Linked DNA regions of Homo sapiens: regions 1, 2, 4, 5, 6 and 7 are each linked to region 3. The links are contacts of gene promoters, found by promoter capture Hi-C in blood cells and fetal thymus (Javierre and others, 2016). All regions are on one chromosome and are shown on one strand. Each heading gives the region's core, a stretch centred on a gene start or on the middle of the fragment in contact. The rest is flanking DNA. Distances are from core to core; before and after follow the strand shown.

Region 1 (3,957 bases), core at 7-2,506, 1.4 Mb after region 3:
CAAATGGATAACAAATTTAATTTGTGAGCCTTAAGAAAGACTCAAAATTATAATAGGCCACATTAAATTTGATTATTGGAAACTTTCAAAAGAACCCTTCTTATGTGCCCCAGTTGCTACAATGACATTTCCAATTCAATGTATTAAATGATCACTCTATAGGATTGGCCCTCGGCCGACTGACACCTGCTTCATCTCTGCTTTCTGGTGTTGAATATAAATTAATGTTCTTCATTTATTGTACCTTGTTTATTAAACTAACCTTCTGACATTTCACCAGTGCTCATTAGGGTTAAAGTCTGTCTCCTACTCAGAAAGGGTGACTTTGAGTTAGGTGAGGCTCAGGCTGGTTGGGCTCAGCTGTGGGGCTCCTTAACAATTGTGGGAGGAATTGTGGGAGGGAAGCAGGTGGGTCTGAAAGTCCTGGTGGGAAATGATGCTGAAATGTAGACAAAGGAGACACTGAAAATTACCCTTTTGGTCTGTGTTTTGCAAACTATTTGTATGGTCTCTTTTTAAAGGAAAAATTTGACATTTCAGGATTTTCAGTGTTTTATCATTTTACTTAATTACGAAAATGCTTATAGGTACTGAACACATGTACACACCTGTAGTACAACTCTAAATCCCAAAGAAATAAGCTATAAAAACTATAAATTCAAATTAGCAAAAGTAATTTAATAAGGATGGTTCTGTTTTACTGAAACAGAGTCATCTAGATTGATTTAATAAGACAAATGCATTTGCATGCTTTATGTCTCATTTTTTGGACTTGATTCTTTTGCTTTTGATAAGGCATTATTTAAGACATTATTGTTATTTTTCTTTAAAAAATTAACTCATTTTAAACCAATTAGGTTCATGGGCCACTTAAAACTGTGTTTCAAAATGCAATACTAGCAGGAAAAAACCCATTGAATTCCACTGAATAAGGAGTTTTCCACTGTCTTTTTGTAACTACCTGTACTGCCCCCTTATGAACTGCTCGATGTGCTGGAGTACAAAGATGGGTGCCCACTAACATGTTTGCTAGCCACAGGGTCTTGATGCTGACCACTGTGACTGAGTCTTTGAACAAGGCATGACTGGGCTGCCAATTGCTGAGGGTATTCAATTTCTTCACTATTCAGTTTCCTCATTTAAATTGTGAATGCTGCTTCTACTCATCATGCTATGATGCCGTTTGGTCTTCAGTAATGCTAAAGGGATAGGAACATAAATGCAAATTCAGACATAGAAACTGAGTAGCGGAGCTCAATTACAAGGTAATTGTTTCATGTCCAGAACTGCTTGTAGTAATGTACAAAATTACAAAGCCAAAACTATCACAGAAATTCTACACATTAGAGAACACATCCATGTTTGCACAACATCTTCCTAGTTTGTTGTTTTGCCTGGGACTATTGGACCTTGTTAATAGATTCGTCTAAGCACAGTTAATAAAATAACTTTTTGGCATTCAGAAATGTACTGTAGAGGGCTCTTATAATGGGATTATGGGACTGTGGAGAGATGACCCTTATAAAAGCATGTGATCATCATAGGTAAAAAGATTTTTTTTTTTTTTTTTTTTTTTTTGCTAAGGTGTGCTCCTAATTGAATTTTACTTTTCTGCTTTAGCTAACAAAGTTTTTTTAAAAAATGTAATGACTTTTGAAAATATATCATTACTTTTAACTTAACATATGTGCAAACCAACATTCACAGTTTCAAGTTTATGTGTTTCTGGTCAAGCCAGAGGCTGCTCCCTTGCAGCATTTTAATACCTCTGGTGGAAAAAAAAAAAAAAAAAATCATTTCTTGTTTGATACAGAAAAGAGAAAAGAACAAAATTAAATAAAAATGTTTTATGCCCCTTTAAAAAAGTTAACCTGAAAACCCAAAAGTTTATTTTGATTTCTGTTGGATAGAGACCATCACCCAAGGGATAGGTTTGCCGACAAAGGCACCAGAAATTTCTATTAAGTGCCTTATTTCATGCAGTGCTTCATTTAATTCCTGAAGACAGATTTCCAGTCTGCACAAGTACCAACACACATGTATTCATACTTTCCCCACAGCTTGCCGAAACTTAGGTGTCAAAGTCTCCCGCAATAGATTACTCTTCTATGAGGGAATATGCAGACTTGCTAGTCCATGGGCCATTGTTCCCTAGCACTAAGTTGAAATGATTCTGCCAACCGGGACCCCAGAGATATCAGAGATTTCATCATCTGGTGCCTAGCTGAGCTGCTCAAGGTCATTGACTAACTTAATGGCTCAGAAGATTATTGCAATCCTGAAGGAAACATTCCAGGACAAGTCATTCCTATTTATAGAAATAGCTTAAAAATGTTCCCAATAAACTCTTTACTCTGTCTACTTGACTTAAAATATAATTCTATTGCTCAAGTATTTACATATATATAAATTCGTGTGTTTGTATCTGGACAGGTAATGATGTGTACTTTAGGGACAAATCTTTGGTTTGCTTCTTAGAAATACATAGTCTTCATTCCACCAAACGCCCCCCAAAATTTATTTTTTTAAAAAATTGTGGCAGAGCCTGCCAGTTGTCCTCTACTATTCATTTTCACCTTTTCTGGTAATAGAATTTTCAGCAGACACAAGATTGTCCTAAATAAAGACCATGTTGCCACGTTACCCTGCCTCCCTTGTAGCTAAGTGTAGTCATGTGACTAAGTCCTGGTCAATGAGAAGTAAGCAAAAATGTTAGAGCAACTTCTGGGACCCTCATATGAGAGTTGGCTGACATATGCTCTTTGCCTTTTCAACATTTCACCCCTCCTGCTGCCTGGAAACAGATGCCACCTTGGACTATGATAATGAGGCCACACTATACAGGTAACAGCACGGTGAACTATTTTCTGAGGATTTCCAGGAGCAGATCCCCCTTACCCACCCAGTGCTGCTTTTTTCCACTCTTTTACACGAGAGAAACCCACTCATTTTTCTTGAGCTATTTTGTTTAAGATTGTTAATTTTGGATTTTTCTGTTCCTTGCATACAAACCTAAAATTACAGAACGCAATTTGGTATGAAGCAAATTGCTTAACTCCCCTCTTCCCCCACCCACCGCCCTCAATCTGTCACCCAGGCTGGAGTGCAGCAGCACAATCACAGCTCACTGCAGCCTCATCCTCTTGGGCTCAAGTGATCCTCCCACCTCAGCCTCCTAAGTACAGGCATGTACCACCACATCTGACTATTTTTTAAAAAAATTTTTATAGAGACAGGATCTCACTATGTTGCCATAGCACTGATATGGATGATTACACAAAGATATACTAACATATAAAAAGAGAGATTACATCTATGCACGAACAATAAAGAATTTATAGCACATGCATATTAAAGCTAGGTAGATCATTTAGATAGAGAACAGAGAAAGAAACTATGTTCCAAATCTGCATAAGATAGGGTGAGGGAAGGTCAAATGTTAAGAGCTGTTTGAACAGCTTGGTGGACTAAAATGAGATAATCCAGACCCATAGTCTCTTGGGAATAAGCTTAGAGGTTGAAAGGAAAGAGCAGACGGAGGGGGCTTTGAGAAAGTATGTGGATCAGGCTGACAGCAGCCCAGCTCACTTTCCACGGAGCTGACTCAGCCTGCCCTGCTCCACCCTAACCTCTGACCTCCTGTGCAGTCACACATGGAGGAAAGCCCTGGGCAACTGTACTTCTTGTTCCTTTAATGCCCCTACTGCAAAAATAACCTCCAGCTGCTCCAGTAGTGCTAGAGGCCGTGGGGAAGAACCCGACCCCACTCTCAGAGCCCTTAGAGGGAAAGGCAGCCCACTCAAGCAAGCATCTGATGCCTGAAGATTCCTCTTCCTTCTCTGAGTGTGGCAGCTGCAGCAAGAAAGGAGGAGACCAACATGAGACTTGGTAAACACATAAGAATGGCAGCAGAGGAGGTAGCCATTCCTGGGGGCCCAGGCTCCCCTCGGGAGGTTG
Region 2 (3,984 bases), core at 570-3,069, 1.3 Mb after region 3:
ATTCAGAAAACTGAAGTCTAATATCTCAAATATATTAGTATTGTGGTCCTTTTGGGGAAAGTATGATAAATTGAAAATATTTTGGTTTTGACTTCTGAAGATTTTGAGTATTGTTTATATATACAAAGGCAAAATGCAAATATATACAAGGCAAAATGCAAATGTGCTTCCAGCTTGCTTCCTTAGAAAAGTATTGAGAACAGTCTAAGTATGATAATTTCTGGTCTTAAAACCTGCAATTGCAATCGGGTATTTCCATAATCTAAACAATAATAAAGATTACATGACTAATTCTAACAATAATAACTACCTATTAGTTTGTGCTTTCTACATACTGGGCACGATGCCTGTCATGTTTATATATATATATTATTTAATCCTTATTACTGCACATAATTACTCCCATTTTACAGATGAATAAATGGGATTCAAGTTAACTAACTTGCCCAAGACTACTGAATTCAGTAAGTGGCAAAGCAAGGATTAAAACCTAAGCCTCTTTGGCTTTAAAGCTCTGCTTCTAATCACTTTTTTACTACTGATTAAACAGATGTGTCCCAAAATTAAGGAAGTCATCGTTGTTTTTTTTGCTTTGTTTTTGCTTAGTCAAAGAGCACAGGCCATCATTTGTTGTAGTGTCACCCGTAAAGCTTAATAAGTTTAAAGTTCAGGGTGTTAATCATTACAAGCATAAAGTATGAATATGCTTTAAAGGTTTATTTAAGAAAAGAATTGGGATTAGATTTGCCCACCAGAATATACATTTTTCACTTGAAGTCCTGAGAGAGATTCAGACAGAAACAGCTTTGACTCAGCAGCAGTTAGCAGACAAACATCTTGATATAATACTGATCCACACTTTGCATATACACTTTCTTTTCTTTGTATTACATTTTTAGAGGTAAGTGGCAGTTTTTCACACACTTCCAAACTGCTTCCATCAGTAATGAAATATTTGGCTTGGGCAGCCTCTGGAGTCCCAGTGTTTCAGCTTAAACTTTCCAGTGGGCCCTGCCAGGCACTAACTTCAAAATATCTTTTTTTATGGTGAATGCCTCCAGAAGGTGCAACTGTGTGGTGGTTTCATTTTGCACTTCATAACGGTGTTGGCATCACTTAATGCAAAGAATGCCACTGTCTCCCACACACCGCTGGTGCCCAAGGACTGTCGAGGCCTGTCCATGTTAGTGGTTTGGGAAGGGCTGAAGTTTGGAGAGAAGGCTCTTTTTCTATTCCATGTGATTGGCTGTCACCAGGGCAAAGGGGGAAAACTAGAACGAGTGGAAAATGCAGCATCGGATGTGTCATCAAATATTCTTCCTACAACCTGGGACACCTAGTTCATTGGTGTTCTGGTCAACATTGAAGGCTGAATCCTCCTTTCTTTTGAAATAATGCGTGTCTTGGATTCACTACTTTTAAACCTTTCTGCTGATCTTTATCCTTTTCTTCCTAAGCAATACTGATTTCTTTCAATGAAAAATGATTTAGCTAGTGAAAAACTGGGATTGGGTTGTAGTAAAGGAATCAACAAATTTGCCCAGATTCTTAAGAGTGGAGTTGGTTCTCCACACTTATACACTGTGCTACAGCAAGCTTCACAACCAAAACCCATTACTTATTCAGGTATAAAAATCAAAAGCTGAACTGTAATGAGAATTTAAATGTAAACTGTTGGAGGATGGTGCTCTGTTAATTTGTGTTTGCTCCATACCCCACCCTATATAATTGATAATATTTGCATCTTTTTGTTTTTAGTACTATTATTTTTTGGTTTATCAAACTTTGTAACATGGTGCTTTATTGTGGACTTTTCAAAGAACACCTTGCCAAATTTGGTAATTCCTAGCAATTGTCATTTCCTGTTGGAATTTCTTAAAGTGGAATCTAATGGAAAAGTAATTCTTGACCTTGTGTATTTAGTAAAATTAAAGGCATAGTTGATTTTAGGATTGTCATAAAAATTAATATTTTGTTTTAAAAGACTTTTTAGACTTTCAATGCTAATTGATCCTATTGTTGGAAGTAGATGATATAAACTTTAAAGCTTTTTGGGTAGAACTTTCACATTCACCATGTCTAAATATTTTAAAGAGGAAATGGATTGACTCGCAGACATTTTGTACTAAGGAATAGAAAATCTTTGAATTGCTATTTAAAAAAAAAAAAATCCCTGTAAAATTTACCATTTTAAACTCCAGTTGCAAAATCCTGATCAGCTATGATGATTCATACATTTGAGCGATAAAGCTTTTTTCAATATTACAAATTCAGTGGGGAGTCACTCAATACATTACAAAAAGAGTACTTACACTTCCTAGTACCCATGTGTATTTTTTTTTCTTTTTAAAGCAATCTGGTGTGCCTTTTGAGAAAAGTTCCAGTGTTCTCACAGATCCTGACTTGGTGTAGCACAGTGCTTTTCAGAAACTTGGTCCAACACCTGAATGAGTAATGTGTAAAACATATAATGTTTTGTAGCTCAGGATACTGCAGGTAAACTAACACTTTTTGCCGAAAAAACATTGAAAAGACAAAGGAAAGCAAGGAAGTTTTGCTTTTTTAAAAAATTTTTTCAAGCTTAATGAAGAAAGAGCTGGAAATCCTTTTGTATGGAGCATTTGCCAGCCCAGCAATATAACAACTTTTGGGTGCATATTTCAATCACAATTAGATGAAATCTTTAATTATCATTTAATTTGACTTTCATATTTGCCTGCAGAAATGATTGTGTTGATAAGACTCTGGAATGAGACAAACCTTTATTAAGTAATTCCATTTTCAGAGCCAACATTAAAGTTTTTTTTAATTAAAAAAATGCCTGTGTAATTTATGAGAAAAGGGGAAGAGGAATTGGCATGTTGGTTGCATGAGAGTTGCATGGATATGTATTTACTATTTAATCTTTAGCTTTTTGAGATTTGGGGTGTGCTAAGTCTTGTTAGTTTGAGGGGCCTAAGGAGTGACACAATAATGGATCTTAATAAATAACACTTTTCTACATCATTTCTCTACCTTTATATTTCCCTTCTATTATATATGCTGACAGGATGATATTTCATTGTATTCAGTGTAGAAGGTGTTTGTGAGAGAGGATACTTTTGTGAGTTGATATTAAGGCAAAGGGAAGTGGTTTATAATTTATCAGAGGAAATGAAATGGTGTGCTCTTTCATTTTATAATATTTCTTTTAAAATTTTATAATGCTTTTAATTGGACTGTGAAACCTTTAAGACATTTGTATTTGAAGTGCTTTTCAGATATATTTACATTTTAACATACAGGGATTTGAGAGATGTCATTGCTGGATTTTTTCATAGGATCACCCACATGAATTTTCTTATCAAAAGAGTATGTCCTAAAGCTTATTTCTAACCCCAAACAGGTTACTAGCCCATTCCTGGATGTTCCGATTCTGAAGATTTAGGGTGGTACCTGGGAATCAGTATTTCTAGCACGTCCTCCAGGTGGTGCTTAGCTCTGGCAAGTGTGGGAGAGACCAGAGAGAGGTGAAGTTCCCACCCAGCCCTCTGCACAGTGACTGGAAAGTTAATGGCCAGTCGTTTGTGCTTCTATGAAACCTAAGATGTGTTACAGTGATGTTGCAGTAGGACAAAGTCACTCAGGAAATCGAGTGGTAAACATTGCAGGGCTTTGAGTTCAAATATTGATTAGCTCTATGTTAAGATGCCTTGTCTTCAGGGATAGCTTTAGAGTGGGATCTCTAACACAAAGCTGACTCGGGAATCTTTCATCTGCCATTGACAAAATTTGCCCTTGTGCAGGCAAGTAAGACTATACTCTCTAATTTTATGGGCACTAGCCACCTATGGTTGTTTCCATTTAAATCAGTTAAAATAAAAAATTCAGTTCTTCACTGGGAATGGCTGCATTTTACTCAATAACCGCTGTGGCTAGTCATTGCTTTATCAGAGAGCACAGCTGTAGAACATTTCCATCATCACAGAAAGCTCTAATAGTGCT
Region 3 (3,794 bases), core at 727-3,226:
GCACTGATATCTTTCCAGCTACATGATATAGATACAAATAAGTCACTAAGAGAAAGTCTTCAGAATTTACCGTCTTCATGGGATTCTCAAAAATTCAGTATTCTTTGAGAATACAGATCTACTAGTACTAATAGTTTCAGTGCATCTTAAGAGAAATAAGAGATACTTGGGCTTCTGAAGTATCCATTCAAAAAGGATTTACTAATATTAAATGCCTATATAAACTGAGGAGCTGTCAGGTTCTGAAAATATGAAGATCAGTAAAATGTGACTTTAGCCTTGAGGAACTCAGACTAATTGGAAAGACAGCAGTAAACAGTCAATTATACACAGTGTGATCAGCAGCCTGGTTGAAGACTCTAGAGAGTAGAAAGAAGCACATTGTGGGGTGTCCTCTGCTCCAGTCTTATGTCTGTCAGCATAGTATTCTCTTAGCTTCTGTATACTGCCTACATTTATGCGCAGTGTGTGTGTAGACATTGCGTGAAAGGGCTTATGTATGCCATCTCCTCTTCATTTATGTATATCAGCCTCTTACAGGTTGGTCCTATTATGGACCCCATATTGCAGCTGGGGAAAATGAGAAGAGATTTAAGGTCATAGTAAGTGTTGTATCCAGAATTCAGACCCAAAATTTTTGCTCTAAACCAGTGCTCTGTATCACCCCTCTCAGAGAAGCCTTTATCTGGAGCAGTGGTTCCCAACCAGGGGTGATTTTACCTCCCAAGGGACATTTGGCAATGTCCTCAGACATTTTTAATTGTCAGCACTGGCATCTAGTAGGTCGAGGTCAGCAATGTTGCTAAACATCCTCCAATGCTCAAGAAAGCTCCTCAGACAAAGAATTATCCAGCCTATGTCAACAGTGCTGAGGTCTAGAAACTGCTCCGGAGCACAGGGACACTCTTTTGTGTCAGCCTTCAAAACATCTTTTGCAATACTTAGAAACATTTTTTAAAAGAAGAGCATGGGGCAAAAATGCTGGACCAAGCTCATTAATATCTATTGAAGTGTGTTTTGTCATTTAGTGTCCCTGAATGTTTGGGATAAAGTCCCAAATGTAAAATTGAGAAAATAATGCCTTCTTTGTCTACCTCTGTGGGTTGCAAGGATCTGTGGAGGCTCTGTAAGAATGTGAGGAGATAACGCATACGAAAGCCTTGGACATGAAACATCATCCAAAACTCTTGGAGTCCTTGGTGTGAAAATATTAATGTGGGCCACAAGAATTAGATAAAGAAGATCCCACAGCAGGCTTCTTTTTGTTTACCCCGCCTACCTTGTCAGCTTACACCCCCTCTTCCTTCTCTTTATCCTCCCATTTTTGTAAGCGAGTTTGTTCCTGGTATTTACTGCATGGACTAAGCCATTTTTAGATGTATTTTTTGCTGAATATATACTTTTTTGATTTAGTATTTCTTGCCATATTACACCAGACTTAAGGCAGCTAATTTAAATTATATTTTTTCTTTATGTACTTTATACAAACATTCATGGATAGGGGGAGATATTTAAATACCATGCCTTTCTTCAAAATGAATAACAAGAACATTCAGCCCCCTTCATTCTGCCCTTTCAAGGTCTAACGTACTTGAAGGGGCAATACTTGTAGCATTTGCCACATAAATGCCAGGTAGTGTCTTTCCACATCGGGGCTCACCATTACCTAGATCTGTAGTTGCCGGCCATGAAGCCAAACAGGTGTGCACCGTGGTCATTGATGGAACAGATGTAAACTCATAAATTTAGTTTACTGAGGTTTTCGGTGAGTGTGGCTTCCCGTCCGCGTGCTTTTCCTATACAACCAGCGGCGTCCTGGCGGAGGAGTCACTGTGGACTTCCCCGGAGCGTTGTCACTGCCATCCCTCCCGCGGTGAATCACAGGTCGGCCTCAGGTGCGCGCAGCACACACCCGGAGCAGCCGCGGGTTTATTTATTTATTTCCGGGACGGATCCATTCCGGGCTCCGGGGAGGGGGAGCGGCGGCCCAGGCTGCGGGGCTGTCCCGGCACCGGCTGGGGTCGCGCCGCGGCCGCCTGCTCCCTTTCCCGTGAGCCCCCGCTCCTCAGGCGCGGCCGGGGCTGGTGGGGGGTGGGGGATGCAGGAAAGCTGGGGGCGCGGCCACCAAGCTGTCCAGGGACAAGGCCCTGCCGCCTCCTCCCAGCCGGACCCTGGAAGGGTCCACAAAGGTGTCAGGTTCAAGTCCTCCAATAGGCCCATTTTTTAAAAGTGCTTTTAAGTTTCCGCTTTTTTCAGGAGGGGAGGGCAAGAGCAGCTTTTTCTATTCAAATTCTTTTCCTTGTATGTAGATACCAAAAGGAAACTCGGCACTGGGCATGTTCGGATGTGAATGGTTTTGCTGATAAGCAACAGCCTCCGGAACCAAAGCCTCAAAATAGTCGTCTCCCCCGCCCCTCGCAGAAGCGGCGAGTGGTATCTGCCAAACAGATGACAAAGTACCTCCGACTGAATCCCACAGACAGCGCTTTGAGCAGAACGCACGGCTCAACTCATGTAATTACTGTTTATAGCTGGCCGAGCCTGACTAGGAGAGGGCAGACCCGAGAGGAAATCAGTTTCCCGGACCTTTGAGAGGAGGCTGTGTGTTAATTAAAGGCTAGGACGGGACGGGTACTTCTCAGACATGCTCCAAGTTGTTCTTGAGATCACAGTTCCCATCACATTTTCTCTGGAGGGAGTGAGTAGATAATTGGGATTTTTTTTTTATTTTTGGCCTTGTCTTTCTTCCTTTTTTTTACCTCTCCCCATTTTAGTCATATGGCCTTGAACCCACAGTGAATTGAAGAGAGAAAGAAATGGATATGTCTGACCCCAATTTTTGGACTGTGCTCTCAAACTTTACTTTGCCTCATTTGAGGAGTGGGAACAGGCTTCGGCGAACACAAAGGTAAAAACGCGGGGATCTCTGCCTGGAGAGGGAATGCTTTCACTTCCCAGGGGCCCACAGGCGGAGCTGCCTGAGCCCCTCAGGAGCTGGGGTTTTGTGTATTGGGTGACACTTTGAAAAGTTTATGCCCCGCTAGGGGAGGGGGTACTGTTTCAGGTATTTCTTCGTCCTTGTGGTTTCCTGGGTAACCCTGATAAATGTGCTTCTCATAGGTTTTCTCCTTTTGAAATGTGGATAATAAGACATTTCCTTGTGAGAGGTGGGGGAGAAAAAGGGAAAGAGGAGGAGATACTTTGTCTAAGTCTGTCCCTTTGACCTGATCATGTTTATCCATTTCATTCACCCAGTCATTGAGGCTTCTGGTACTTTTCGTTGAGCCCTTCAGATGTTCCTCTCTATTAAATATTTGACCTTTATAAGATGCAGATGTACGATGCAAGGATAGCCCAGGTTAGCTATTTCATACTATCTGTGGAGAGGCAGATCTACATAACTTTGTCATTTTGATTTTTCAATGGTTTGCTGGCATTTATTACTAATACAGGAGTGTCCTTTTCATTTTGTAACGTATATTTGATAGAAAAGATGGGGAAAGAAAAAGAATTTTAATGTCAAGATGAAGCTCATGCCACAAGTGACAGGCAGTTCCAAGAGTTTGCTGACACTTGTGTTGAGAGACTATGACTTTGAAGGAGGCATTTCTCACCACATTTGTGTCCAGCACAGAAAAGTAAGATTGTTGTACTTTTAGAGGGGCACACCTTTTGAGTTGTGTTAATACTGATTCTTTGTTTTCCTTCAAAACTTGCCTTGCATGTACATGTGAACATGCATGAGAGCAACTTTGCAGTCAGATAAACAGGATGCAGGCTCTCAGATTTGGAGC
Region 4 (3,941 bases), core at 176-2,675, 1.2 Mb after region 3:
AGAGTAGTAATGAACTCTTCTTCACCTTTTTTGAGGCTGTCCAAAGAAGAAATGAAGTTAGATTATTGCAGAATTACATAAGTTAGTAAGCATGGACTGACCAGTTCTTTCTAAGACACATACTTGAGTATTTATTCTCTTCAGTTGCAATGAAGGTGACAGTGAATTTGCTGAATAGCTGTGTACATGTTTCCCCAAAGAGACCACTGGAATAAAGTTTTGTTTCTTGAGACAGTTTCCATTGCATTTATAAGTCTTGTCCCTTGAAGGATGTTTTCTGGTAAACACCTGTATTCTTTTTACATTATATATCTTCATTACCGTACAAGTTTGGTTGTGAGCCATTCCAAAGTCTTTAGTATGCTGTATGGGTGTATTCTATACTTTATACCTTATTTGGAAGTCATAATAATGTCAAAACTATGCCTAGCCATCCCCTTCCCTGCAGAGTCTCTTTTGCTTTGTCCACTTGGTGTGTATATTTTTTTTTTTTTTTTTTGAGACAGAGTTTTACTCGTCGCCCAAGCCGCAGTGCAGTGGCGCGATCTCGGCTCGCTGCAACTTCTGCCTCCCGGGCCCAAGCGATTCTCCTGCCTTAGCCCCCCAGGTAGCTGAGATTACCGGTGCCCGCCACCACGCCCAGCTAATTTTTGTATTTTTAGTAGAGACAGGGTTTCACCATGTTAGCCAGGCTGGTCTGGAACGCCTGACCTCAAACGGTCCATCCGCTTCAGCCTCCCAAAGTGCTGGGATTACAGGCGTGAGCCACCGCGCCCGTCCATGTGTGTCTTTTTTATTTTTTGTTTTTTGAGACGGAGTCTCGCTCTGTCGCCCAGGCTGGAGTGCAGTGGTGCGATCTTGGCTCACTGCAAGCTCCGCCTCCTGGGTTCACGCCATTCTCCTGCCTCAGCCTCCCGAGTAGCTGGGACTGCAGGCGCCTGCCACCACGTTGTGTGTCTTTTTAAAAGATTTCCAGGACTTCTTTTTCCTTTACAAATCCAAAATTGCAGTAGCTTAATAAATAACAAATATTTTGGTTTTATGATTACTGTCAAATAGCTCATTAGTAAGAGAAAAAAAAAAATGCTGAGCCTTAAGAGGGGAGAGGAAAGGCAGTCTTTCTGAAGCTGAATCCTTTGCCTAAATTGTCTTAGCAATAAATCTTGCCACCTATTGGTAAAAAGGAAGAACTAAAACTAAAAGGTGTTTGCCGTTCTCACAGGTAGTTAGTAGTGTGATCGAAATAGAATTCTTTCAGCGGTGCTTTTGGATAAGGGGCTTGGAAATATGTGATTTGATATGGAACTTTTCCCTGTGCTTTGAATTTATCATGGCTCATCTCTAAGTCATAATAGTTTTTTGAGTAGAGGAGGTATGCTGCTCTCATGGTCTCTCTTAAAATTATATTTTTTGAGATAGAATTCCATTTTAATAGATCAGTGGATTTTAATTGGACACATTTTAGAGGCTTGATTGATTTTGAAAACATTTTTCTTTTTTCTTTCTTTCTGTCTTTCTGCCTTTCTTTCCACCACGGCTAACTGCAGTCTGAACCTCCTGTGCTCAGTTGATCCTCCCGCCTCAGCCTCCTGAGTAGCTGGGACTACAGGCGTGCGCCACCATGCCTGGCTAATTTTTCTGTAGAGATGGGGTTTCACCATGTTGCCTAGGCTGGTCTCAAGTGATCTGTCTGCCTCAGCCTCCTAAAGGGCTAAAATTATAGGTGTGAGCCACTGCACGTGGCCTTTTTTTTTTTTTTTTCTTGAGACAGGGTCTTCCTCTGTCACTCAGGCTGGAGTATAGTGGCATCAACATGGCTCACTGTAGCCTTGACATCTTGGGGTCACCTGATCCTCCTACCTCAGCCTCTGGTGTAGCTGGGACTACAGGCTGAAAACATTTTTCTAACTCTGTTGTTAGTTTGGGCTTTCCTTCATTCCAGCCTCTGAAATCCATTATTTCCTGCCCAACGGGACAGGCCAGTGGTGACGTTGGCCTTTGGTGCCAGGGCCTGTTTTTCCAGATCATGGGCACCATACAAAGATAACTGCCCTAAACGGCATCATTGCCCCAGAGTCATTGAATGTCCTTAAGGTGCATTTGATAAAACAAAAACAGTTTTTTGTTTTGAAAATTCTCAAGTATTTCCATACTGGGAAAATGTTCTTTTTTTTTTTTTGACAGGGTCTTGCTCTGCTGCCCAGGCTGGAGTGCAGTGGCGGGATCTCAATTCACTGCAACCTCTGCATCCTGGGTTCAAGCAATTCTCCTGCCTCAGCTGGGACCACCGGCACATGCCACTAAGCCCGGCTAATTTTTGTATTTTTAGTAGAGATGGGGTTTTGCCATGTTGGCCAGACTGGTCTTGAACTCTTGACCTCAAGAGTGACCCATCTGCCTCGGCCTCCGAGAGTGCTGGGATTACAGGCATGAGCCACCATGCCTGGCCAACAATGTTCTTTTTAATGGTGTTTTCCCCACTATCTGGATAGATATATGAATTCAGTTACTAAGATGACTTAGATTTAAATATAAAACACTAGCATAGCAGTTTTTGATTCTTAATATTATCTTAAATCCACCTCCCCTCATTGTCCTCTGTATCTAAACACCCTTCAATTCTTGAGAAAATTAAGATTACCAAAGATTAGTAATCTATTTGTGATTGTGTGTGTTGGTGGACATCCTAACAAATTTATGAATAAAGCCAATACTGTTTTGTTAGTGTCCTTATTTTTTCTTTACGTCTGTTCATATTTGGAATTCTAAGGCACTACCCAGATAATCATTTGATACCCTTTGTTGGCATGACATGTTTGGTCAATTGTTTTGGCAAAATTATTTATCCACCACTGGGAACTAAGCACTGTAACAACTAAAGAAAGAGGTCATACAAGGGAAATTGGAAGAACTATATGTTATTTGTTTCAATTTTTATGTAGTACACCTATATATGTGTGCAAAAAAAATGTAAACTGTTACAAAGCAACATATTGATGAATTTAAATGAGTAGAGCATAATAAAAGCAAAAACCAAACAGAAGAGTGGTTGGAGTGAGGCCATAATAAACCAAGAGATATTTTCTGAAGGAAGTGAACATGTTTGCATTTTCCAGCATACTGCTATGGATGTCAGCGTTAGGCTAATACATAGTATTGCAGCGTGATTCAAAAAGGTGAGATAGAGGGGAAATAAGATAGCTTCATAAATATTACCAAGGAATTTAAGACATGAGCATTTTATGTAGGGAGGTTGAAATGCATTGTTATAATCAGGCTGTGTAATTTCCTTCTGTCAAGACCTACCCATTTACCAGTAATGATACCTTCTTTCTCTTCTATTTTTGTCTCTTCCTTTAGGAAAAGGAATATATGCTTACTCATTATTTAAAATTCAGAGTCATTTTCCTGTTCCAGTTGGTTTTGTTCCTGGAACCACCAAAGAAGAGTAGAATTAGGTGCATGTGAAACTTTTGTTTCTGCTTTTTCTACTCAATCAACTTTTATCCCTTTTTAATTTTTACTCTCTCAACCATCAGTTCTATATCATGGTATCTCTTCTTGGTCTTTTTGTATTATATTTCCATAAAACCAGATGTACGGGGTTGTTAAAATACTGCCTGGACATATTATCTACCCTGCACTAAGTGGTCCTATCACAAAATCCAGTTAAACACACATTGAAGTATTTAAATTGTTTCTTTTTTAAATAACATCATATTGGGCATTGGACTTCTTAACTAAACTATTTCTTTCACTAAATGACATTGGTTAATTCAACAAGCCATTGTAGGAATTCTGTTAACCCAGTAGCTTCTACTACTATGTTACTATGGTAATGACTTAGCTTCCCATAAAGCTGCATTTAAATAGGTGTTTATAGTCACCAATTACCAGGTATTTCAAGTACTCTTTGAAAGGGGCCTGCTTGTGGTGGGGTG
Region 5 (3,927 bases), core at 755-3,254, 1.5 Mb after region 3:
GTTTTTGATGCTAATAGCAATGGACACTCTGTCTCCCTGGCAGCGAAATTCCAGGAAACCCCCTCAGATGGGGGTTAATGGCAGCAGTATTTTCGGGAGGCCCTGCTTTAGTCAGGTAAGTGCAGTCGAGATAACACTTTTTTCTGTATCTTCTTTAGCTCAAATGTTCTCACTTCAAAAATCTTTATGCCAGCTCCAGGGATTTGAATGAATCCCCACAAGACTCAAGACATATATCATCTCAAGAACTTTCAAAAAGGAAAACTTCCTGGTTCCTTTCTAGGGCAAATTTTGAGATGGACAATATTTCTATGACATGCTTGAGAGCTTCAGGAAGGCTCAGTGAAGTTCCTGGTGACAGAGACATCACTGCCTAATACAAATGCACTGTGGGGTTACGGATAAGGTCTCTGCCCAGGATGACATCATCCTGGGCCTCATTCCAGTACTGTAAGCTGTGACTTCTGTGCCCAGAGTGAGGACTGCTGTTTAACTTCGTTAGGTTCTCAAGATACAAAGCCTGCTACTTACCTTCAGAAAATCATTGCACAATATTTCAAGAGTGAAGTCATATCAGGTTTCTTTTTTCTGTTTACTTTTGCCTTTCACTCATCACAAACAGGATAAAAGGTAGACCGTTTATATTTTTGGGTCACAAATTGATCTTATAACTCCAAACACTGACTTCCAGGGAAATTTTGTTACCAGTGGAAATATCTAGACGAAAAGGTGAAATTCAAAGTGCTAATTTCAAGAGGCAGTATCTTTTATAAGTAATATGAATTCGTGCTATTTGTCTATAAGGAAAACATGCTTCCTGTTCAGTAAAGTCATTTTCACAACCTCAGGAATGCTGCCATTATTAAGATAGTTAACAGCATCTTCTAAAAAAATTGTGGACTCAGGTTCATCATTTCAAACAGCTGATACACAATACACAATGTAGAAATTAAAGATAACTTGGCCAGGTGCGGTGGCTCACATCTGCAATCCCAGCTACTCGGGAGGCTGAGGTAGGAGAATCGCCTGACACCCGGGAGGCCAAGGCTGCAGTGAGCCGTGATTGCGCCACTGCATTCCAGCCTGGGCAACAGAGCAAGACCCTGTCTTAAAAAAAATAACCGAGCCACCAAGTGATCCTATCTTAGGAGATGGAAACCCCCATCATAAGAAGAGTAGGTAAATGTCTGCAGTCTAGCCTCTGGGAATGAAATTTCTTAAGGACGGGCTTCATGGATTTGGGGCTCATGAACCTGCAAGAACACTGGCAATCAAGAGAGTAAAAACATAACCAGAAGGGTTCAGAGTTTGGGAAGCTTCTTCGTAGCACTAACTGAGATATTGCTAATTAGTGGCTCTCCAAAATATTATTAAAATAATCTGTTGATTCTGGACAGTCTTTATTAGGGGAGGAGGCTGTCCTGTGCATTATAGGATGTTTAGCAGCATTCCTGACTTCTACCCTCTAGATGCCAGGAGCAGCCCCAGTCATGACAACCAGAAATGTTGCCAGACATGGCCAAATATCCCCTGGGAGGCAAAATCATCCCCAGTTGAGAACTGATGGCTTAAAGTTAATGGAGAACACTATTTACAAAAAATCTCACTAGAGTCTCGGGGTGCAGGTAGGGGATGGAGCAAAGTTGGGAGTATTTTTGAGATTGTGAAGTCTGGATTTTTTCCAATGTGTATCTTTTAGTGTGAGAGCCAGGGAGCCCTGGCTGGGGTCTAGTGAGGACCATAATCTAATCACTTAGAATGGGCAAACACAAGATGAAGATTTTGAGGGCAAAGACTCGGAAATGCTCAAATTTTAAAATTTTCCTTGAATGCTTTCTATTGACGAGTTGATGTGTCTTTGGGGAAATTCCTGGAATGAACAATACAGTTATTTGTAACTGTTATCTTCTTGAGGAAGAGTTTTCTGGAACAGTAAAGTTATGCTGATGAAGATCCTGGAATAGTAAAATCATGTTAACGTAGACTGTGTGGATATAAATACGTTTTAGATCTCAGTGAATTCCTTAAGTTCCTTGATTTTTTGCCCCTGCCCTTTTGCCCGTTATTACCACATTCAGAAAAGCCAATAAAATACAAAAAAAAAAAAAAAGAGACTAAAGAGGCAGCAGGAAGAAGGAGGGGCTCGGATGTTGCTGCTGGGCTCCATCCTGGCTTCACCACACTGACACCTGCATGACCTGGGTGAGCAACATACTTTCTCCAAACCTCAGCCTCTCCATCAATATATGGAAGTTGATAATAGTGACTCCTTCATCAAGTTGTGGTAGAGTTTGAATGAAATAATACATGACCAGTGCCCTAGACATACTATGCACTCAGTGGGTATAAATCAACTGTGTAAAACTAGGAAAACATGCCATCACTATGGTGCTTCTATGCTTAGACCAACATGCCTTTGGGGACTGCCTCATTCTTTCTGAAAACTAAGCAAATACTGGGTTTAAAAGGAAGCAGAAGTGTTGTCTCTGCACCCTAGAAATATTGTGTAGGGAGAGGTGGCTAACTCTCCTAAATCCTTCCACCCATGTTTTTAACTGAGCATGCTCTTGGATCACCACTAAAATGCATGGGGGAATTTAGGCTGTAATTTAGTAATGCCACTGTTTATAAAAGTAGAGGAACAATGAGAACACCATGGCATTAGTTTGGAGTAGGTTAAAAATTACTTTTCTGAAGCTTATCTACTAGAATGTTTATCTAAGCTATTTTTCATGGGACGTTTTAAAGACAATACCTTCCTTCAATAGCCATGACCTTGAATTCATTACATGGTGGAATTCTACTGCTTACTCTCTCCTAATTCTGAAAGCCAGCCATATTCTTCAAGTGGGAGACTCATTTGTACAGTGCCAGGTGCTGATCTAGGCACTTCATATGAACTTTCTCCTTTAATCCTCAGTCTGTAAGGTAAATACCGTGATGAGAAATCTGATACTCAGAGTCAAGCAATACAGTGAGGAGACCCAGCTGACACACAAGTGGAGGCAGAATTTAAGCCTTGTCTAGTGGGCTCCAAAGTCGATGGTTCTACTGCAGCATGTTACCACCTACATGTCTATTTCTCAAAACAGCAACAAACAGAAAAACCCTAAGATAACACATCAAACATCCTAGTCATGGTTTTACAGAGTCTGGGTCCATATGCAGTATTTGAACAGATAAACTGGTTTCTAGTATGTTGGCAAGGAAGGGGCAATCTTGCAAGGTGGATAGATCTAATCTGATTGTAAGGTGACTGAAATAACCAGACACCAGCCTCAGGGAGCCTCATTGCCAGTCCAGTTGTTTGCCTAATTTTAACCAGTGAATGAAGTAGATCCAATCCATTGGTTGACACTTAACTGCTGTTGATGGGGCTGAGAGGAAGAAAAACAAGTCCGTCCCCTCTCTTATATACCATCCTGTCCCCCAGTGCAATCTGAGTGCCGTGTAAATTTGGCAAAGGGATGTTTAGACAGCAAAGGTTATCAACAAAATGGTTATGGGCCAAGGGAATTTCACTGAATAACCCTGTGGCTGGGAGTGACACTGGAATTAATTGTCTCCTAGTGTCCTGAAGAGTAGGCTTCCTAGGATGGTCTCCTTTTTTATGGTGGTGGTAATCTTTTTATTATTTTTCACGGTGGGTGATTCATTAAAAGAACAACTAAATGCAATTCAATTTCTAGGCCTTTGTAAGGTTTTTGGGTTTGGTTTTTGTTTTTTAACATGAACCAGAGTTCTTTTTTCCATCTCAGCTCTGTGAAAATGCCAACTGTGTGATTCTGAGCAAGTCGCCTAATCTCACTAGGGCTCAGTTTCTTCTCTGTAAGAGAGGGATCCACTATGTGACCCCTAAGGTCCTTTCTTGCTTTTAAGTCAAACTGATTCAGATGTTATTAACTGACTAGTGCCCTCTACAGGCAA
Region 6 (3,580 bases), core at 456-2,955, 1.4 Mb after region 3:
TCAGAAGGAGAGGCACTCTGGGTAAGATATGTGTCTAGAAATAGAATAAGATCAATCAGCCTTGATTCACGGAAGTGTCCTGTTCCAGCACCACCTTGCCAGGTGAAGTGAGTCACAAGCTCCCTTTCCGTTTCATTGTCACTGGCGGAAGGAAGTGATAGAGGTGGCTTCCAGCCATGCTGGGATGCCACATGCGTTTGCTGCTTGAGGAGGGACTTCCCATCTTTCCCTTGCTCTCTTTTCGCACACCTACTGCTAGGGCGCCTCTGACATAAGCCCACCTGCAACTTCTTCCAGGATCTGCTTCCACTTTGCCCCAGGAGCTACTTTTCTCTTTATCATTTTCTTTCATAGGATCTGAAAATGGTCTAGCAAAAGGTTGTTTCTTTGTTAGTCTCATGTTCTCGTGTCCATGTCAAATAGGGAAAATGAGGAAATTAATTGCTGTCTCTCTCAGGAACTCAGACCAACATAAAAATAAGACTCCTGAACTTAGAGCCTGTTTTGTCCACAAGATTATCCAACCTGCAGCAAGCACCAGAACTTGCCTGAGATCCTGAGATCCTAGTCACCTGGACATACACCAAGATCTAGCATGGAAGAAGGGAAATCTGCATCAGGAGTTCAGAGAAGGAAGAAGGATCAGTGAACTAACCTTAGCTCCTCCCTTTCAAATATCCACCTGGAAAAACAAAAATCTGTTCTCACCCTGGGCCACAAAGCTTGATGCTTAGGAGGCAGGCAGCTTGGAGGTGTGTTTCACCACCTGCTGGTTGCATGACTGTGAGCTCAGGACTTCACCTTTTTGTGCCTCAGTTTCCTCATCTGTAAAAGGGAGACAAGAGTTGTATACCTTATAGCATTCAAAGCAGTTTTATCACCTCACAACAACAAATTCTCTCACACTAGAGGCTATTAATCATCCTAGCAAGAGAAAAAGAGAAGGATCTTCAAAATTCAAATTTGGTTCCGTGTTTAGGTTCCTGTAAACAAGTCCGACACATTCTCCCTCTGCATCTTTGTTCAAGTTGTTTGCCTCTGTTGGTTCTTTCTCATGGTCCTCCTCCCGATCTTCTGCCTCTTTCTTCCCTTTCTTTTTGTGGGTTTAACTCTCCAGGCCCATAAGGATCTGTCCTGCCACATCTCTTATTTGAGATGCTCATTTTTGCTCTTCTTTTTACTGTGTCCTTCTCAGAGCTCCAGAACGATTTATTTTGCATTACCCATTAAGGCAGGCACATTGCTAGGCGCTCGCTGGAGACATGTGGTTGACGCTTTTTGAAGAATGCAGAATGCCTGGCTTAAAGAAACCTACTTTCTTAGAAAAGTTCCAGCTTAGAGCAAACCACCTCGTGATCACCCGCGTGGAATCTCGGGCTGAGCAATGTGGTTTGCAGATCCCTGAGCAGGGGCCTGTGAAATCTGGGAAGCAGGCATGTGCTGTGCGCAGAGGCATTCCAATAATAGTTTCAGATGCAGAGGACGGGCGGGCTGCTGTGACTCATGTCCCCAGCGCACGCACGTCTCCAGGCAGAGGGGACGTGGGCGGGGACGCTCACCCTTGGCCGAGGGGAATTACCTGGGGAGGCCAGGAAACAGGCCCCGGAGCACAGACAGGAGCCTGGCGTGCACAAGGGCAGCCACGCTGACTCACACAGGAAGGCAAGAGGGCGATGACCAAATTTGAAAGAAGCAAGTCGTCTATGTCAGGGAAGCCCTTAGAGAAACAGGAAGCATGATCAGCTGGTTTCAAGCTCAGAAAAGGAAAATTCAGTGTGTCCCCATGCCTTTGTTCTCACAGAAGTTTATCAAGATGAGACTCTGCTGAGCCTAGCACTGTGGTTCTGAGAAGTGAGAGTCAGCTACCTCCTCCAAGGGGGCCTCCACAGTGAGAGCGCACACAGTTGTCCGTCTGCAAGAACTGTTGGTACTTACCATAGCAAACATGTACGGACAGGGCCTCCACCTTCAGTTTTGTGGGTTGTGACCAGCCAAAGGGTGGCCAGCCGAGGGAGGAACTCTGCTTCCCAAGTCAGGCACCAGCCTGAGCCAGCCCAGAGGAAGGGACATCTTTTTCTAATGTGTCTACCCAAATGAGCACACCCTTTTCCAATTACCACAAAGACACCCTGCATGCTAGCTGTGGCCCTGTCTACAGAACACTTATTATATTCCAGACTCTGTTAAGAATTTGGTACACATTGTCTCATTTAATTCTTACAACGAACCTAAGAGACGGATTCTTTTTTTTTTGAGACAGAGTCTCACTCTGTCACCAGGCTGGAGTGCAGTGGCACGATCTCGGCTCACTGCAACCTCCGCCTCCTGGGTTTGAGCGATTCTCCTACCTCAGCCTCCCGAGTAGCTGGGAACTTCAGGTGCGCACCAGCATGCCCAGCTAATTTTTGTATTTTCAGTAGAGATAGAGTTTCACCACGTTGGCCAGGATGGTCTCAATCTCTTGACCTCGTGATTTGCCCGCCTCAGCCTCCCAAAGTGCTGGGATTAGGGTTCTTTTATTAACTCTGTTTTATAGATGAGGAACCGTAAGTACAGAGAGGGAATCTGCCTAACGCCACACAGCTATTTGTATCAGATTTGAAATTTGTACAAGGGCATGCTGCCTCCTAGGATGATTTTGTTTAGAACTAGATGATGATGATGATCATGATTTCAGTCATAGGTAGTTGAAGCTTCCCTGTGTTCTCAAGGATGTCTCAGTCAGCCTAATATGCCTCTGGGGTAAACAGAGAATGGTGGAGTGTTGGAAAGTTCTTGGAGAGGTTGGCTCCACCTGTCCAGGGCCAGGCTGCCCCAGGGCCATGTGCCCTGGCTGAGTAGCTGGCCTCTCTCCTATGCTAGAGCTTGGTATATGCCCAGCTGGCTAGGCTCTCTGGATTTCAGGATCTCAGACAAGTTCTGGTGCTTGTTGCAGATTGGATAATCTTGTGGACAAAACATAGGCTCTAAGTTCAGGAGTCCTATTTTCATGTTGGTCTGAGTTCCTGAGAAAGACAGCAGTGAACTTCCTCATTGCAGCACAGGGCACTTCCTCCGGCAGCACAGGGCAGGGATCCCCCTAACTGAACATAGGCTTGCCACCACCCTATTTCCCCAATGCCCTGAGTGTGGTGGGACTTCTTGCTATGCAGAAGATTTCTGTATAATTCTCCAGGTAATGACAGACAGGATAACCTGCCACTCAAATGGAGTTGCCACTTCAAGAGAAACAGCAACCTTTAGTCCAGAAATTCTAAAGCATCAATCCCCTTAAAATCATATTCTCAGCCCAGGATTGGTATGCTAACAAGTTCCCAGGGAGTTTGATACCCGTAGTTCTTTGGATTATTCTTCCTGAAACATCGCTTTGGGCCTTTCATGCTGAGAGATGTAGGTCGCCATCCAAGCTAAATGAAATAAGCAGAGCTGACACTGAAAGTCCTTTTGTCCGATGAAAGCTAACAACTCTAGTATCTTGGCTGACCATCACATCCTTTAAGGATCATTTTATTTTTAACAAATAACTGGAAAGTTGGCTTGCAATACCTTCAGGTGAAGGCTTTGGGGGGTGGGGCCACCT
Region 7 (3,829 bases), core at 1,048-3,547, 1.4 Mb before region 3:
TTGCCCAGGCTGGTCTCAAACTCTGGGGCTCAAGCAATCCTCCCACCTCAGCCTCCCAAAGTGCTGAGATTAAAGGTGTGAAACTTTCTGTGATACATTTTTAAATGTCAGTTATTTCACAATATCAGATTTTTTATCTTTTATTTTTCAGATGGAGTCTCACTCTGTCACCCAGGCTGGAATGCAGTGGCACAAACTCAGCTCACTGCAACCTCCGCCTCCTGGGTTCAAGTGATTCTCCTACCTCAGCCTCCTGAGTAACTGGGATTAACAGGCCCACACCACAATGCCTGGCTACGTTTTGTATTATTAGTAGAGACGGGGTTTCGCCATGTTGGCCAGGCTAGTCTCAAACTCCTGACCTCAAGTGATCCGCCCACTTTGGCCTCCCAAAGTGCTTCCCAGGCACTTTGTGCTTTACAGGCGTGTGCCACCGCGCCTAGCCACAATATCAGATTTTTATGTTACTGTTTTCTCTAATGATAAAAGCCATGTCATTATCAACTTGTTCACAAGCAAAAGGCCATTTTACACAGTATTAGCATTATATACTTCAACTTTTACCTTCCAATAAATACTTCTTGCTTTCATCTATAGAAATGACAGTGAGATTTTTTTAGTTTATGCTACTATACCTACTACAAATTATGGCATGAAGATTTTGTCAGAAAGGACTATTTCATTGCACAGTTCAGGAATATTTTACATGTTAAGATGAAAATGAACAAGGTGAGCCTCCAATGTATCAAATTCTGTGCTGTAAGAAACTGGAGTTACATCAGGCTTTGGTACACTTTTGAGACTGTAAGGCAAACAGGGTAACAAAAAAATAGATACTGCAATGATACCCATTCCAATTATGAAATAAAACTTAAACTTCAAGTTAATTCACAAACTGCTCTTCAAGTATTCTCTACTTAGCAAAAGCACAATTCAATAAATAAAATCTCAGTCACACAACATGCCTAATAATGAGGGCTCCTTTGCATATCAGATATGCCGTGTACCTGTAGAATAACTTCATTAGTACCTAAAGGTCATCTGAATCAACAACCACCAATATTCACTGATACTAAATTGTGGGAAGAAATGTCTCATTTGCTGTCATATAAAACCAACATTACCTGAATAATCATAGGTGTCTACTTTTCAAGATGTGAAAAAAACTTCATATATTACCTTGATCAGTAATTCATAACCCTGGTTGCACATTAAAATAACTTCTGGTAATTCCTAAAATATACTGATGTCAACCTCATCAGAACTGGAGGAGGAGTGCATCAGTAGTGTACTAAAACTCCTCAGTGATCCTAATATGTAGCCAGGAATGAGAATTATCAATCTCTTAGATTAGAGATGCTCCTGAAGGTTACTCTATAAACCAATGGGATCAGTTCTCCCCTCCATATCTTTCCGTGCACAACAGTGGAAGGGAAAAATGAGTGCCACATATTTCAAATGATTTTTTAGCAAATTGATTCTGGAGCATGTATACATGGTAGAATCTCAAACTTCAAGCATAAGAAAATTCATAAACTCTATCGTTAATGCCCAGCTATGACGATGCTGCAGACTTGTGCAAAGAGTTAATAGACTGTACTACTAACAGGGGAGGGGGCAGCTCACCCAATAACAGATGTCTGATTACAGACGCAGTACAAGAGCGAAAAGTACAGACTTTAAAGCCGGTCAACCCGGGGCTCTGCCACACACTGTTTACCTAAACCTGGGTTTCCTCCCTGTAAAATGGGAATTCACATCTACTTCATAAGTAGATATTAACGAGCTAAAACACCTAACTTAGTACGTAGTTACGATGATGATGACTCAATTTATAATACTAAGCTAATTAATGTCTGTTGAGTTTAACTAAAAGCAGAGGACCTGGAGAAAAGACCGGTCTAGGTCACTGCCACTGGCCCGCAAGCTCCTTTTCACAAATGTCCCGATGATGACATGTCATGAGCAGAAGACCAGGCAATTTCAGGCCATAGGAGAGAAAGGATGCAGAGGACAGGACGAGACTTGTAATGCCAAAAGGGGCCCAGAGGCCGCGCATCCCACCTATCGAAGCCTGGGCCGCGGCGATGCCGCCAGGTCTCCAGGATGAACCGAAGGGAGGCCGATGGTGGAGAATAGAGCACGCAAGGTCCCTCACCTTCACTACAGCTGTCCCCCGGCTGCCCTGCCGGCCACTGTCTACTCCCGCTCCGAGCTTGTTTACAACCAGGGTAGCCATCCTCGCAGGGGAAGCGCCACAGAAACAGCCTTCAGAGTCCTCAACTGAGAGGCGGGGTTGAGCCACCTACCCAGAGGCCTCTGCGCACGCCACCGGCGCACAGGCGCAGTAGGACACTGGGCGCCGCTTAGCCGACTCTTACTCCTCCTCCCCGCAATCGTCGGGTGGTTAGTTGCACAGCCTCGCGCATGGGCACTTTTGTTATTTTTCATTATGTAGTCTGCAGCTGCTGGAGGAAAGACAAGAAAAAAAAAGAAGGGACAAAACGATTAAAGTTTTGGGGTGAAAACTCCAGATCCTTTAATGATTTTTCCTCTCGAATCCAAACCAGCCAGGGCGTGAACTGAGGGCGGTGAGGGGGTACGGGCATCTCCCTGCATGCAACGCGGTTTTTGTATAAACTACAAATCCCAGCATGCCACTCTCTCTCTCTCTCTTTTTTTTTTTTTTTTTTTTTTTTAAAAAAAAAACTCCGGCAACGTTGGCCTTTGGGAGGCCGCGTATTGTTACCTAGGGGTGGTTTCTTTTCCTGCAGTCGCGATGTGTGATTGCAGATGGAAAACAAAGTATTTTATGCCTACGTTTCTAAGATAGAAGAAATGGACTTGTTGAAAAGAAGCCAGTTTGTAAAGGACACAGTAGGAGAATTTAAGGTACCACCACCAGAGAGAGGTTGAGAGTGCGTTTGACTTTTGGTTTTGCCAAACGCGAGGTTTTCCGTTTCCTTCCGGGGCAAGTTGAACCTGTCCAGCCCCCGTAGGCTGTGGGTCAAAAGTGCCGGTCAAAATGGAAGTGAATCCCCCTAAACAGGAGCACCTGCTGGCGCTAAAAGGTAAACTTTTGCGAACCTGATTCCCCCTTTTCTGTTTCCTTGCATTCCCTACTTATCGAAGCCTTTGCCATGTAGGCCTCATCCTTCTTAAACACTCAGTGCTCGCCCTCCTGCTCTGTCCTTTGCCGCCAAGCGGGAGGAAGCGATTTCTCCTGGATGCTTTTTAGGTTTATGGGCCCCTTTCTAGAACGAAATAGATACCTGGTAAATCGTTCTTTCTGATCTGTGCTGCTTCAGTCACGAGATTTTAGCCGCAGAAGCTGACGTCCCGCTCCTACCGTGGAGATCTCTGTGAATTACAGCGGGCATCCAAAGTGCTTTTTCCTTCTGTCTCTTGTTTCTTCCTGTGGCACTGACGAAGTTAATCAGGCTTCAGCTTCCCCTGTAAAATTAGTATTGCATGACAGTAGTGCAGAGAATTTAGCAATACATAGTAATACAACATATAACTTAGATTTATTCAAAACAAACTGCAGTTTACTTCAAATCACTGTGTATGTGGGAAATATGTCCGAGATCTAATGTCAACTCTCATTTTTTGTACACAGCCATTTTGAGTAAGTTTGGTGATTTAATTAGATCATTATTTAGGAAAAAACAGCAGCACTTTTTTTTTTAGGACAATTTTTTTAATGCCTATTTTCTGGAAACCTTTTATTTGAAATCTTTTCAGCTTTATTTTATTTGTTTTTTACTACAACAAATGCGCTTTTTGTTTCTTGGATGCCTTAATATATGGTTAACAATGACTTCTTGAA

What was found. The method cuts DNA at HindIII sites, captures the fragments that hold promoters and counts their contacts. A CHiCAGO score of 5 or more calls a contact.
Region 1: a contact is called between a fragment that was not itself captured here and the fragment with the promoter of MAST4-AS1 in region 3, in 1 of 17 cell types (activated CD4 T cells). The highest score is 5.4, in activated CD4 T cells.
Region 2: a fragment that was not itself captured here is called in contact with the fragment with the promoter of MAST4-AS1 in region 3 in 3 of 17 cell types (non-activated CD4 T cells, naive CD4 T cells and naive CD8 T cells); the score reaches 6.8 in non-activated CD4 T cells.
Region 4: a fragment that was not itself captured here is called in contact with the fragment with the promoter of MAST4-AS1 in region 3 in 6 of 17 cell types (naive CD8 T cells, naive CD4 T cells, naive B cells and 3 more); the score reaches 8.6 in naive CD8 T cells.
Region 5: a fragment that was not itself captured here is called in contact with the fragment with the promoter of MAST4-AS1 in region 3 in 1 of 17 cell types (naive CD8 T cells); the score reaches 5.6 in naive CD8 T cells.
Region 6: a fragment that was not itself captured here is called in contact with the fragment with the promoter of MAST4-AS1 in region 3 in 2 of 17 cell types (activated CD4 T cells and non-activated CD4 T cells); the score reaches 9.5 in activated CD4 T cells.
Region 7: the fragment with the promoter of TRIM23 here is called in contact with the fragment with the promoter of MAST4-AS1 in region 3 in 1 of 17 cell types (total CD8 T cells); the score reaches 6.4 in total CD8 T cells.

What each region holds. Positions count from the first base shown.
Region 1 is chr5:68,416,197-68,420,153 of GRCh38, forward strand. No RefSeq gene overlaps it. Among named protein-coding and RNA genes, the nearest start is that of PIK3R1, 200 kb to the left of the region's middle. The HindIII fragment of the contact is 4,501 bases long and covers 1-3,507 here.
Region 2 is chr5:68,267,728-68,271,711 of GRCh38, forward strand. All of the region lies in intron 2 of PIK3R1 (phosphoinositide-3-kinase regulatory subunit 1), which reads left to right. Among named protein-coding and RNA genes, the nearest start is that of PIK3R1, 54 kb to the left of the region's middle. The HindIII fragment of the contact is 451 bases long and covers 1,595-2,045 here.
Region 3 is chr5:67,002,178-67,005,971 of GRCh38, forward strand. MAST4-AS1 (MAST4 antisense RNA 1) reads right to left here and starts at 1,977. Exons shown (of 2, transcript NR_111908.1): 1 at 1,667-1,977. All of the region lies in intron 4 of MAST4 (microtubule associated serine/threonine kinase family member 4), which reads left to right. RefSeq lists a silencer at 1,855-2,194. The HindIII fragment of the contact is 7,419 bases long and covers 1-3,794 here.
Region 4 is chr5:68,245,833-68,249,773 of GRCh38, forward strand. All of the region lies in intron 2 of PIK3R1 (phosphoinositide-3-kinase regulatory subunit 1), which reads left to right. Among named protein-coding and RNA genes, the nearest start is that of PIK3R1, 32 kb to the left of the region's middle. RefSeq lists an enhancer at 3,689-3,941. The HindIII fragment of the contact is 6,788 bases long and covers 1-3,941 here.
Region 5 is chr5:68,456,432-68,460,358 of GRCh38, forward strand. The region is part of intron 3 of LOC105379013 (a long non-coding RNA gene); the gene reads right to left. Among named protein-coding and RNA genes, the nearest start is that of PIK3R1, 240 kb to the left of the region's middle. The HindIII fragment of the contact is 1,381 bases long and covers 1,315-2,695 here.
Region 6 is chr5:68,432,761-68,436,340 of GRCh38, forward strand. LOC105379013 (a long non-coding RNA gene) reads right to left here. Exons shown (of 5, transcript XR_007058804.1): 4 at 709-825. Among named protein-coding and RNA genes, the nearest start is that of PIK3R1, 220 kb to the left of the region's middle. RefSeq lists enhancers at 954-2,153, 1,432-1,771, 1,462-1,756, 2,142-2,201. The HindIII fragment of the contact is 1,971 bases long and covers 721-2,691 here.
Region 7 is chr5:65,622,036-65,625,864 of GRCh38, forward strand. TRIM23 (tripartite motif containing 23) reads right to left here and starts at 2,298. Exons shown (of 11, transcript NM_001656.4): 1 at 2,159-2,298. The coding sequence starts at 2,239. It overlaps TRAPPC13 (trafficking protein particle complex subunit 13), which reads left to right and starts at 2,992. Exons shown (of 13, transcript NM_024941.4): 1 at 2,992-3,071. The coding sequence starts at 3,026. It overlaps SHLD3 (shieldin complex subunit 3), which reads left to right and starts at 2,992. Exons shown (of 2, transcript NM_001365341.2): 1 at 2,992-3,071. RefSeq lists enhancers at 1,968-2,297, 2,428-2,507. The HindIII fragment of the contact is 4,327 bases long and covers 1-3,829 here.